Regions from separate parts of the Homo sapiens genome. Here region 1 is linked to region 2. Evidence: promoter capture Hi-C in 16 types of primary human blood cells and fetal thymus (Javierre and others, 2016). All regions are on one chromosome and are shown on one strand. Each heading gives the region's core, a stretch centred on a gene start or on the middle of the fragment in contact. The rest is flanking DNA. Distances are from core to core; before and after follow the strand shown.

Region 1 (6,038 bases), core at 282-2,781, 450 kb after region 2:
CTTCGACTAGAAGCTATGGGGAGTAGAGCCTGTGTGCCTGGCTGCAGCCTCTGGAGTGCAGTCTGCATTGCCGAGCTGGGAACAGCAGGGAAAGAGCAGGTTTCAGCTCAAATGCCAGAGACATTTGCCAAATTACAGTAGCTTTTTTTCTTTTCCTTTTTTTTTTTTTTTTTGAGACAAAGTCTTGCTTTGTTGCCCAGGCTGGAGTGCAGTGGCACAATCTCGGCTCACTGCAACCTCCACCTCCCAGTTCAAGTGATTCTCCTGCCTCAGCCTCCCGAGTAGCTGGGATTACAGGCGCGTGCCACCACACCTGGCTAATTTTTGTATCTTTAGTAGAGACAGGGTTTCGCCATGTTGGCCAGGCTGGTCTTGAACTCTTGACCTCAGATGATCTGCCCACCTCAGCCTCCCAAAGTGCTGGGATTACAGGCGTGAGCCACCGCTCCTGGCCAGTAGCTTTTTTTAAATAAATGTTTCTTCTTAGGACCATACAGCGGAGACTTTGAACCCTAACCCTAACCATATAATGGAATATTGCCCAGCTATGAAATGGAATAAAGTATTGACACGGGCTACAACATGGATGAACTTTGAAAACATGCTAAGTGAAAGAAGGCAGTCACAAAAGACCACATATTAGACGATTCCACGTATATGAAACAAATCTATAGAAACAGAAAGTAGATCAGTGGTTGCTTAAGGCAAGGGTATGGAGGGGTAGCAAGATGATAAAGGGTCCAGGGCTCCCTAAGGAAGTGATGAAAATCTTCTCAACTGACTGTTGAGGACTGTGGGCGTCTCCCCATTGAACTGCACACGATAAATGAGTGACTTGTATGGTATGTGAACTGTATCTCAAGGAAGAATCTCACTGCTTTTGGGGGCTTCTAAGACCCACAGCCCATTCACCAAACCTACTGCAAATGGCAAGGGACCAGGGTCACTGGATTCTGGCCTTCTCTGGTCAGCTGGATGTGTATGGATGCTCCTGTATGGGATCAGGGAGGAGTTCTTGCCTTAAAGGGACAGGCATTGAAATGCCAACAAAAAGGGACCCCTCCCAGACCCAGTGCAATTCCTGAGGGGATAAAAGAAAGAAGCTGTGGCCCTGGCACAGGCTGCCAAGCATCACCACCGCATGGCAGCAGTGTCCCCGCATCCACCTGGTGTGGGCAAGGCACAAGCTCAGCCTGAGCCCCATCTGCTCCCCTGCCGCTGCAAGGGCAGCACCATGCAGGGCACACAGAAAGTCCTCAGGGCTCGCAAACCAGAAAGTATCTAGACAGGTCTCAAACAATCTAGGGGTTTATTTGCCACCATTGAGGACGCTACTGGGATACGGCATGGACAGCGAGGGGAGGGGTCCCGTTCTTGTGAAGCTTGATATTACATTGTAATATAGAATGAAGTAATTATACAACTCAACATCATGTAGAATCAGTGGGAGCCCTGAGTTTGTTTTCCTGCAACTAGATGGTCCCATCTAGGGATCGTGTGGAGACAGTGACAGATCATCAGGCATTAGATTTTCATAAGGAACACGCAGCTTAGATCTCTCGAACGTGCAGTTCACAATAGGGTTCACACTCCTATGACAATCTAATGGCACTGCTGATCTGACAGGAGGTGGAGCTCAGGCAGTAATGCCAGCAATGGGGAGTGGCTGTGAATACAGATGAAGCTTCGCTCCCTCGCCTGCTGCTCACCTCCTGCTGTTTGGCCTGGTTCCTAACAGGCCACAGACTGGTATGGGTCCATGGCCCGGGGGTTGGGGACCTCTGCCTTATAGGGAAAACTGATTAGATCATTGTTCTTTGCTTGTAAATGTTCTCATGTAGCCAACTAGACTTTGTCACCACCACCATTTTTTTCCCTAGAGAGGCTATGTGGTGGCTTTTAATCCCATTTTGGCTCTACAACTCAGGTCCAAAATATGTCCCATGCTCTTCCTCTAAGAGAAGACATTGGCCAGAAAGCAAGGAGAAGCTGTATCCAGAAAGTAAAGAATCTGTAATCAATGCATCTCCTTGGGTCACTCGGCAGTTTCAACATTCCATGGAGCTGGTAAGATCTGTGAGCCAGGCTCTTGGTGGGACCTCAGCTCACTCTGCCGTCTCTCCCAGCTTTAGACCTGGGCTTCACGACTTCTAGCTGTGTGACCTTGGACAAATTGTCAGGTTCTCTGCTCCTTGGTTTCCCCATGTATAAAATAGGAACTCCTGTGCCTTTCTTGTAGGCTTGTCATGAGAATGAAATGAGTTAATACATGCAAATGCTTAGTGCTCAGCACTCAATAAAAGTCAGCCAATATCGTTGTTGCTATTAGCTTCTTCATATTTCAAATACGGATTTCTTTAACTTTTTCGTGCCACGACCTGCTTTGGAAGAATGGTGACGTCATAGACTCCTGAAAGCAGTGTGCTTAAATGAATAGAATAAAATCCACACAATTTGACAGGCAGCCAATTATATTGAAGCACGTTATCAAAATAATTCTTTAACCATGACAAAATAATTCATGTGCTTATTTATTACCATATTAAATAACAGAACCCTGCAGCAGGCCCTATAGCCACCAAAATTCACCTAAGTGATAAGTATGAATAATGTTCCAAAAATAAGCACCAACTGTAATATCTGAAGTTTCTCTTGGTGATAAAGTCATAGGTTACCGTGTTTGTTGCCTCCAATTATAATGGAAGAAAATGCTGAATTACAGCTAAAAACTGGTGAAAATATGACGCAATTGCTTTCCTATCCAGGTTCATGGATGCCTGAATTCTATCCATGGTTTTCTGGACTATGTGCCAAATCTCCCAGCCCATGTCTCTAGGATTTGGCTCTGGCTGGGACGACTTTGGGAACCTTGCTATGTGTCCAGTTTTCTATACAGAAGCCTGGACAAGAACCCCTTCCTTTGGGCTGCCAGAAACCACAAGATGCGAGTTCTCCCTGCCGCCTCCAATATGAATAAGCAGGTCCACAACCAAAGACAGCCTCATCCCTCAGAGAATTAAATAGGACCCCTTTGGTTTTTGGATATAGAAGGTGATTTTTAAAGCCTGGAGGAGAATTTGGCTAAATGAAAATTTAGGGAGGAAGGAAGACAAATGAAGCCAGCTACCGATTACTCATGAAAAGAAAAGAGAAGAAAGCAAGCAAGGATAATCCACAAAGAATGGATAATAGAGAAACATTCCCTTTCTGCTGCCGTGAGGACCACAGTGAAACAGGAGCTCGCTTGCCACTGCCATCTGGGCACCATCCCGCTGTCCGCATCCAACACAGCTAATTTGCTCCAGTGAAACTTCAAGTAGCCAAAGTCATCATTTAAGCACAGTAAAAGAAAGAGAAGACTTAATTGGATGACATCAATTTGCACAATAACACGAGTAGGTGGTCTCATAGAAGACCAGATAATAAAGTGAACAGGTCTGCCTGGAATAATAACAAAGGTGTCAGTTAAAACGATGTCTCAAGTACAACACCTTTCTCCTCCGTGTCTCAGGGGCCCTTCCTGGTATGTGAAAAGAAATCTAGAGTGTTCGTGTAGGCCTAGCTCTTACTCAGCTTTCAGCCTTCACCTAAATGTCACATGGAGAGGAAGGTCCTGATGGTCTAGAGGAAGGAAGGTCTAGAGGAAGGTCCTGATGCCCACCAGTGTGGCGCTCATTCTGTGCTCGTTCTGGCTCCACCGTTGTGTCTTCCTTTACCACGGGCACCACAGTTGTCATCCAAGCAGCCAAAGTCATCATTTAAGCACGGTAAAAGAAAGCACAGTCACTTACTTGTGTGTTGACCTGTCTACTGTCTGTCTTCCCACTGAATCTCAAGCCTTATGATTCCAGGGACTTTGTCTCTTTTGTTTATCATTGTAGACTCAATGCCCAGGCCAATGCTCGGCACATAGTAGGTACTCAGTAAATATTTGTTGAATGACTGAACAATCAAATGAGGTCACCAGTGACTTCCCAGTTGCTCAATTTATTGAATTGTTTCCTTTTAAAGTTTAAAAAATAATGTTTTTATTGTTCCTGATTATAACATAATACATATTTATGGATACCAAGAAGAAATTTAACTATCATTTCATCACCCAGAGAGAATACTTTTTGTATATTTTCTGCATTTTGTATATTTTTGTATATTTTCTGCATTTCCAAATATATAATAGAGTTATATTTTTGTGCACATATATGTATTAAGTATAATTAAAATTGTACCTTATATGTGATCTTATATCCTGGCTTAAGACTTTTTACATCTCATTGAAACTTTTGAACACCACTTCAATGGGTTCATCACTTTCTTAATCAGTTCCATATTATTAAAAATTAATTCAGAATTTTCACTATTATCAGTGATGCTGAAAGGGACACTTTTATGCATTAATTTCATGTGGACTCTTCCATCCTACTCTTTTTATGTTGAGTGACTTTGCTGATTTTGACCCACTGTATTTGACCCTCATAAAATGTCAGTTTAGTTTGATCCGATCTAACCCTTGACCTTTCTGCAGCTTTTAACATTAGCATCCTTGCCCCTCCTGGTTGTAATTCACTCCTGACTTTCTGCACTTCCTACCTCCCTCACTGTTTTCTTCTGCCCTATTTTCTTCTGCTCCCGTGGCTCAGCCTTTGGCTGCCTCCCTGCCTGTCTGTCCTCCATGGGCAACGTTGCCCAGCACCACTTCGATGCTGCAGATTTGATTGCAGATCCAGGTCTTCAGCCCTGTTGTCACTCCTGAGCACCAGCCTACCAGATGGTTCCACCCAAATGTTCCACCCCAGCTCAAGCCCAGCTCCAGCCCCACCTTGGATGGCTTCAGCCTCCACCAGGCTGCCAACAGTGCCTCCCTCTCAGGTCACTCCCAGGGTTAAATGAGAGAAGCACATTTCATTGATACACACACACACACACACACACACACACACACACACTTTAATGGCTCTGAGATGGAGATGCATCTTGCAGCACATGGTGTGCTATGGTTTTCCAAAACAACAGATGCAATCTGTCACCAATGAAATGAAATATGCACAGGACAGTGCCTGGCACAGAGGAAGTGCCCAACAAGTCTCCAGAGGGTGATGGTGAACTTCCAGGAGGAGGCCACCAACCATCCACCATTATTCCCTGCTTCCACAAATCTCCCTAGTTCACCAAACTCTCAGCCCTAACCCTGGTGGGTTCTTTACTTCGTGCTCCTCTGTGCTCCACAGCCAGGGTCAAACCCCTACTCTAGGCGCTTCCGCAGCCCCCCATGGCTCCCTCTCCATCCAATGCAGCCTCCTGAACAGGTTTCACCGGTCCCATCTCACCACTGCAGTGGGCTGGCATCGATGCCCCTCCCTCCCACTTCATGCTCCCCAGTCCAGCCCCAGCCTGTCCACAGGGGTCTTTCTCAAGTGCCTGCGGAGTCTGGTTTGAAGCCATTCAGTGGCTCCACACTGTCTTCCACATGTGCCAGACTCTGTGCACTGCTAGACCCTCCAAAATCCAACCCCTGCCAACCTCCCTCACCTCTCTCCCATGGGCGCCTGGGTGCTTGCCCTCCCCGCCTGGGACCCTGCTCTCCGCCATGGGTGCCCGGGTGCTCGCCCTCCCTGCCTGGGACCCCACTCTCTCCCACTCATCTTGTCCAGCATCTGCTCTGCTGACCACGCTCAGGAAGCACCGGGAGACTTCCCCGCTGTGCCCCATTGTGCTCACCCTGAAAACGCCCCTCCCGCCGTGCAAAGCGAGCGCGCCGGGGCTGAGTGTGCCCTTCGCTCCTCTCTGAGCCAGCAGCTCCCACTCCAGCACCTGGAGAACCGGTTTCTTAAATGTTGGTTCAGTGGGAAGCAGGAGCAACCCTCCACCCCGGGACCCCTTCCTGCTCTGGAGCCTGTTGGCCCTGTGGAGGGAATGGCAGCCTTAATAAAATCCAAATTTCAAAATGTGTGTGCTCTTTCGTGGAGTCTGCACAGGGGGAAGAGAGAACAGGAACTTCGCAGAGTGCGGAAGAAAACACGGCCATTCTGGAAGGAATCACA
Region 2 (6,077 bases), core at 343-2,842:
GATACATCCCAAGTACCTGGAACAGTGTCTGGTATATCGCGGATGTTTAGTAAGTCTTGAGAGGCTCACTGAGTGAACAGTGTTAATTTTCATGGTTTAAAACTTTATATAAATGGTACCATACTCGCTGCCGTACTTGCTGTCGTACTCGCTGCCGTACTGTGCACTTGCATTTTTGCTCCGCGTTCTGTTTTTGGCATTTATCCACATTGATCCATGTAGCTCTCATTTATTTTAACTGCCATGTGGTATTTCGCTGTATATGCCCATTTCTTTATCGCTTCTCCCCGTGTTGGATATTCAGGGTGTGTCCGGTGCTTTGGACACACAGTGTTGTGAGGAATATTCTGTACGCATCTTCTAGCACATGCATACTTCTTGTGGTAGTTTCTCTCTCACAGTGGATGGCCTATTAGAATGACTAGGGAATTCTTAGCTATTAGTTTGTTCCCAGAAGTTCTGGTTCAATTGATCTGGTCTGGGTTCAGTGCTGCAGAAATGTTTTTTCTTTTAAAGACATTCCTGGATGACTTTAACGACAGCCGGGGTTGAGAACCACGGCTCCTGGCTCGAAGGAGCAGATCTATGTTTGTGTTCTTGGGCATATCTAGAAAGAGATATGCTTTCTTTCTGGCTTGTCATCTACTTGCTTCAATTTTCCTAAAGGTTGCTTTCAAAGTGGTGGCACCATGCGTGATCCCAGCGGTGAATGCAGATTCCCACGTTTTCATTAACATTCTTTAAGTTGTTTGACCCTTGGGGTTTTCTGATAGGATGAGGGTGAAACGCATCCTCTTGTTCCCACAGCGTTCCCCTAATTCCGGGGGCTGAGTTTATTGATCGTTCAAGCATCTTCTTTTGTGACGGGACCGCTGATGTCCTTGACTCAAAGATGTTAAAAATACGTTTAGAAGGATCTTTATTTTTTCCTGCTGCTGTACGAGGCACCCTTTCTGGCCCCGTGTTTCCTTGCCCTTCTTTCCAGCAGCAGATTTTACTCAGAACAACTTCAGTGCTGTGGACACAAAGACGCAGGCCTTGGAGAGGCGGGTCAGCCCTGCCTCGGGGCTGCTGAGTGAGGTGCCAGATGCGTTTGTTCCTCATTTACTCATTTGCGTTTGTTCCTCATTTACTCGTTCCTCGCAGACTGGGTTGTAACACCATGTACCACCCTCTGAACCCAGAGATCAAGGGCTGGCTGGCCCTGTAGCCCCAAGGAGCTCCGTCACCGGCCAATGGGGAGGCGAACCCGTGGTGACCCACTCAGCGGCACCGCCAAGGGCTGAGCGTGGCGCCAGCGGCGGAAGGCCCGGGGTCACCGTCCCAGGCCGGGGCTCCGACCCCGAGTCCGCAGGGTCCTCTCCAGGCACCTTCCATCTGGGGTCTGGCTTCCACTCCCGGCCGCGGCGTCCTGATTTCCAGAAACCAGGCGGCCGCTGGAGGGGAGAAGGGGGAGCGGGCGCAGCGGGGGAGGGAGGAGAAGAAACGCCGGAGAAGGGAGAGTAGAGCGAGGAAGGACGCGAGGCGGGCGGAGCGCGGGGAGGTGCAGGGGGCGGGGAAGGGGCGGCGCCGCGAGGGCGGCTCCTGGCGGCGGGACTGTGGCTGTGGCCCCGGGAGAGCCGGGTGGGGCCTCGGGATGCAGCCGCCGGTGCCCGGGCCCCTGGGCCTGCTGGACCCCGCAGGTGAGCGCGGGGCTGGGGGCTCGTCTCGGCTCCTGCGGGGGAGCGTGGGGACCCCGGGGCTGGGACTACAGGTCCCCGGCCGGCCCGGGCGGAACCTGCGCGGAGACGCGGCACGGGGTCTGGTCCCTCCGCCTCCTTCGAGCTCTGTCTTTGGAACACTTTGCATTTCGCACTGGGGTCGGGCGTTCGTCCTACCGGTTCGTTCATTCATTCTCTCTCCCTGTCTCTCTCTCTGTCTCTGTCTCTGTCTCTCTCGCTCTTTCTGTCTCTGCCTCCTCAGTCTTTGCCTTTCTCTGACTCTGTGTCCGTTCCTCTTGGCCTCTCTCTCCCTGTTACGTTTTATTATGAGGAACAGGCGCCCCAAAGTGCGCTCCTTCCCCATCTCTTCCGTTTATTCCAACCTACACCATTTTCCGGGAAAACTTCGTTTGGAAGAGCGAGGTAGCCTTTTCCTGTTTGAACGTGCAGAGGCGCTCACAGAACTGGACAGTGTTGCTTGGTTTCGGCTCGCCCCTCTCTCGTGTTTCTCCCCGGTGTGTTCACGGAATCTCCAATTCTTCCACTTCCCAGACCAAGCCCGCTGCAGCCTCGGAGCCAGGCAAAGGCTGGGAAAACAGGAAACCTGTTGCGTGTTCACCAGTTCGCAAGCCGGGCTCGGGGGCTCTGCCGGGAAGTGGCCAGGACTGGAAGGATGCCGGGTGTCTTCCTGAGGGGGAGAGGGCTGGGCAGATTTCAGAACAAAAGAGAAACAGAGTTCCCTAGAAAGTGAAGCCCTGACGGCTGGAGGGAGGGATGGAGTGGTGTCTAGGGGGCTCTGCCGCTCCCTCAGAAATAATCCAACACAAACTTCTGGGGATTAACCTCACAACCCTTTTACTGCGGCATCGTTCGGAACCGGACGAATTACTGTTACTTAAAATAATCAAATAATTTGGCTTCTTTCTAAAAGAAACCACTATATGCCTTCCAATCTAAAGCAAAATGCTCTATGGTCAAATGTATTAATGTGGATTAGTCTATTGGTGTTTAATAATGATAACTATTATTATTATTTATTAACTAGTTTTATCATTATTAGAATGCCTTAATGTTTAAAAATAGCATCTGACTTAGATTTTCTTCTGACAAAGAACTTTAAACCTTAAAACAATACTTGGAGCTGGTCTTTTTAGTATATGAAACATTGGTGTATCTGGGTAGGATTATGGGTCTTTTTGTTTGGAGCTGGTCTTTTACTAAAATGTATAAAGCATTGGTGTGTCTGGGGTTGGATTATGGTCTTTCTGCTTTGGTGTGTCGGGGTGGATTATGGTCTTTCTGCTTTGGGGTATCTGGGGGTGGGTTATGGTCTTTCTGCTTTGGGGTATCTGGGGGTGGATTATGGTCTTTCTGCTTTGGGGTATCTGGGGGTGGATTATGGTCTTTCTGCTTTGGTGTGTCTGGGGGTGGATTATGGTCTTTCTGCTTTGGGGTATCGGGGGTGGGTTATGGTCTTTCTGCTTTGGGGTATCTGGGGGTGGATTATGGTCTTTCTGCTTTGGTGTGCCTGGGGGTGGATTATGGTCTTTCTGCTTTGGTGTGTCTGGGGGTGGGTTATGGTCTTTCTGCTTTGGTGTGTCTGGAGGTAGATTGTGGGTTTTTCTGCTTTGGGGTATCTGGGGGTGGACCATAGTCTTTCTGCTTTGGGGTACCTGGGGGTAGGATTATGGGTTTTTCTGCTTTGCCCTTCTTTGTTCACTACCCTGGGCATGTGTAAAATCAGGACGAAAGAGGAATTGACGGCTGAGTGATTACAGTTTTACCTGGGATTGTTACTTGGACACCATGACTGGTGTCCCCACATGATTAAATGGAACTCACTCTTCTTTTTGGGCGTTCCAGGTCCGGCTGGCAGGAAGGCCGGATCTTAGAACCCTTCCAAGCAGTGCCACCTCCCATGCTTTGTGACATTCCCCTTCCTGGCTCTGTGGAGTAGAGGAAATGGGTCTGAGGGGCAGGAAGAACCTGACCTCCAGCCTCGCGTGTCTTCCAGGTAGGACCTGGCGTGGGCACAGGCTCATGTGGTTCAGCTCCTCCAGCTAAGGCTGGGGAAGGAGCCAGGAAGGGGAGAGCAGGTGGGATGGGAGAAGTGGGGGCTGGTGGGGAGTGACAAGGTGATATTCTGAGATATCCTAGATGGGCTGCACCTGGGGAAGACTAGAATTAGAAAAATCAGCGCACTTGATAGCAGAGAGGTAGCTGTTGGCCCCTTCAGCTTCACATCTCAGAACTCCTCCTTGCAACTCCAGTGGGAGAAATGCTGGTTAAGAATAGCCGCTACGCCGTCTTAAAGTTCACACCACCCTGATGATTAGCATATGCATTCCATTTACAAAAACCTATATGAGAGCCCACGTATCGTGTCTCACTGGACGCTTATCACAATCTCAAGAGGTGGGTGAGCAGGTGGTTCTCATGATTTCCATCCTACAGGTCAGGAGACTGAAGTGCCTTCATTCATTCCGTACCAGGAGATGTGTCTATGTCCTCATCTGAGCCCCGGGAACCGGCGACAAACAAGAGACAGAGCTCTTGGCTCTCATAGGGTTCTCTTCTCCCAGGCTCAGGGAGATTAAATGGCCGCCCAAGACCACACAATGGGTCTGGACAGACCCAGAATGGTTTGGGTCCAGTCCCTGTAAGCTGCCTCTGCAATAGAAACCTATTGGTAGATATTTTAATTAATAGTTGGGGCACTTAGGAGCACTTTAATTTTCACAGTGCGTGTAATAACAGTATTTCCGGGACAGGAAAAAAAAAAAAATCAAGGAAATTATTCAGGTGATTTTAATTATCTTTCTCCTAAGTGAAAGCCCCTTTCTCTTGAAAATCTGACCTTATAATTATCTCTTATGCTAATTATAAAGATATCCCACCTTCTTTTCTTGAGTTTATTTTTTTTCTCATTTTTATGCTGTGTCATGTATTTATAGAATGTGTTTAAGGTTGGGAGTCTTCTTTTTGTTATCTCTATTATATCTGGAGTCAAAATATCACCATTGTGTAATTGAATGAGATGATTTGCAACCATTGCTCCCAGTGCCCCATGTAAGTTCTACTGTCTTTCTAGACTTGTATAATCTAGGAATCTGTGATAGGAATGCTGATAAAAGGGTGGCTCATACCTTCTGCTTTTTATTTTGTAGCAGATGGGGGGGAAGTTAGACTCAGGAAAGAGGGGTAAACATAGCAAAGTTAGGTTGAAAATGGTTTGTAGGAGGATTTACGTGGTTTCAGAGGAGATGTGTCTAACTCTTCGCATAGTAATTAACAAGTCAGCATGTTACCGATTGACTTGACAAGGTCAGTTAGCCCAGTGGGTCTTGCTGGGCCCCCACTCTTCATGCCAAGGAACCGAGCAGAGCTTCCAGCTTTAAGAACCAGAATCCAGTCACAGGGTTCCTGACAGACGGACGCCCACAGGAGGCTGGGACAGGAGCCCCACGGAAGGTTCTACCTGTGGGTCGAAGCAGACGCTGAGTCATCTGGTTAACTATTTTGAGCATAATATTATATGCATGCAGTGCATTTAATTAAGAAAAATCGCACAACAAAATCCTTTGAGAAGGACAGCGTTTGTCTGATAATTTTCTCAAATACTTAGTCCCATAAAATTTAGTTTTAGAAATTGTATTGCTCTTAAAATACATTTAAACAGTCAAAAGATTGGAATGGGAGCCTAAGGAAAAGCAGGAAAGGCTGAAGCGGGAATTGTGTGAGTTGAAGGCACCTAGCATTTGGCTGCATTGGCAGGTGTTACATGGAGGCTGGTGAGGGTGACCTGGAGCCTCTGGTCATGATCAAATGAGATAAGGAAGTTAGGCTGCTCTGAAAATCGACACACAGCCCAATCCATAGATGGTGTTATTATCATCAATATGATTATTTTGTGTAATTCCACAATAGCTGTTTCATTAACTTCCAAAATGTGGAATTGCATATATTTTTAAATTTTGTGTCCATTTTTAAAAAGTTTACCTACCTTTCTAAAACGAATCAACCAGAACGGAGTTTCACCCACGGGAGGTGCCTGCCTTCCTCTTGCCCACTTGCTCCCAGCGTGGGTTTGCCGTTTCTCACCTCGACTTCCCGACAGAGACCCGGGATCTGTCGCCATCGCTCCTGTCTCTCGGGCAAACGACCGTGAACATATAACCTTTCAGGTTTTTAACAAATTGCAAGATTTCAGTGAAAAAATTACTATAAAGCATTGTGGTCCTAATTTAAGAAAAAAATGTTTTAAAAAGTACATAGTGCATTGAAAAAAGACCATAAGATTTTATGCCTACTTGTTAATTTAGGTTACCATGAATTTTATTTTCCCTTTTGCATTTTTCAGTACTTTATGAGTGTTCT

Evidence for each region. Contacts are between HindIII fragments. The CHiCAGO score rates a contact against its expected background, and 5 or more counts as called.
Region 1: a contact is called between a fragment that was not itself captured here and the fragment with the promoter of TMEM255B in region 2, in 1 of 17 cell types (M1 macrophages). The highest score is 5.1, in M1 macrophages.

Annotation. Positions count from the first base shown.
Region 1 is chr13:114,205,949-114,211,986 of GRCh38, forward strand. All of the region lies in intron 3 of CFAP97D2 (CFAP97 domain containing 2), which reads left to right. Among named protein-coding and RNA genes, the nearest start is that of CDC16, 26 kb to the right of the region's middle. The HindIII fragment of the contact is 302 bases long and covers 1,381-1,682 here.
Region 2 is chr13:113,757,634-113,763,710 of GRCh38, forward strand. TMEM255B (transmembrane protein 255B) reads left to right here and starts at 1,593. Exons shown (of 9, transcript NM_182614.4): 1 at 1,593-1,682. The coding sequence starts at 1,637. RefSeq lists enhancers at 753-1,254, 1,811-2,312. The HindIII fragment of the contact is 10,322 bases long and covers 1-6,077 here.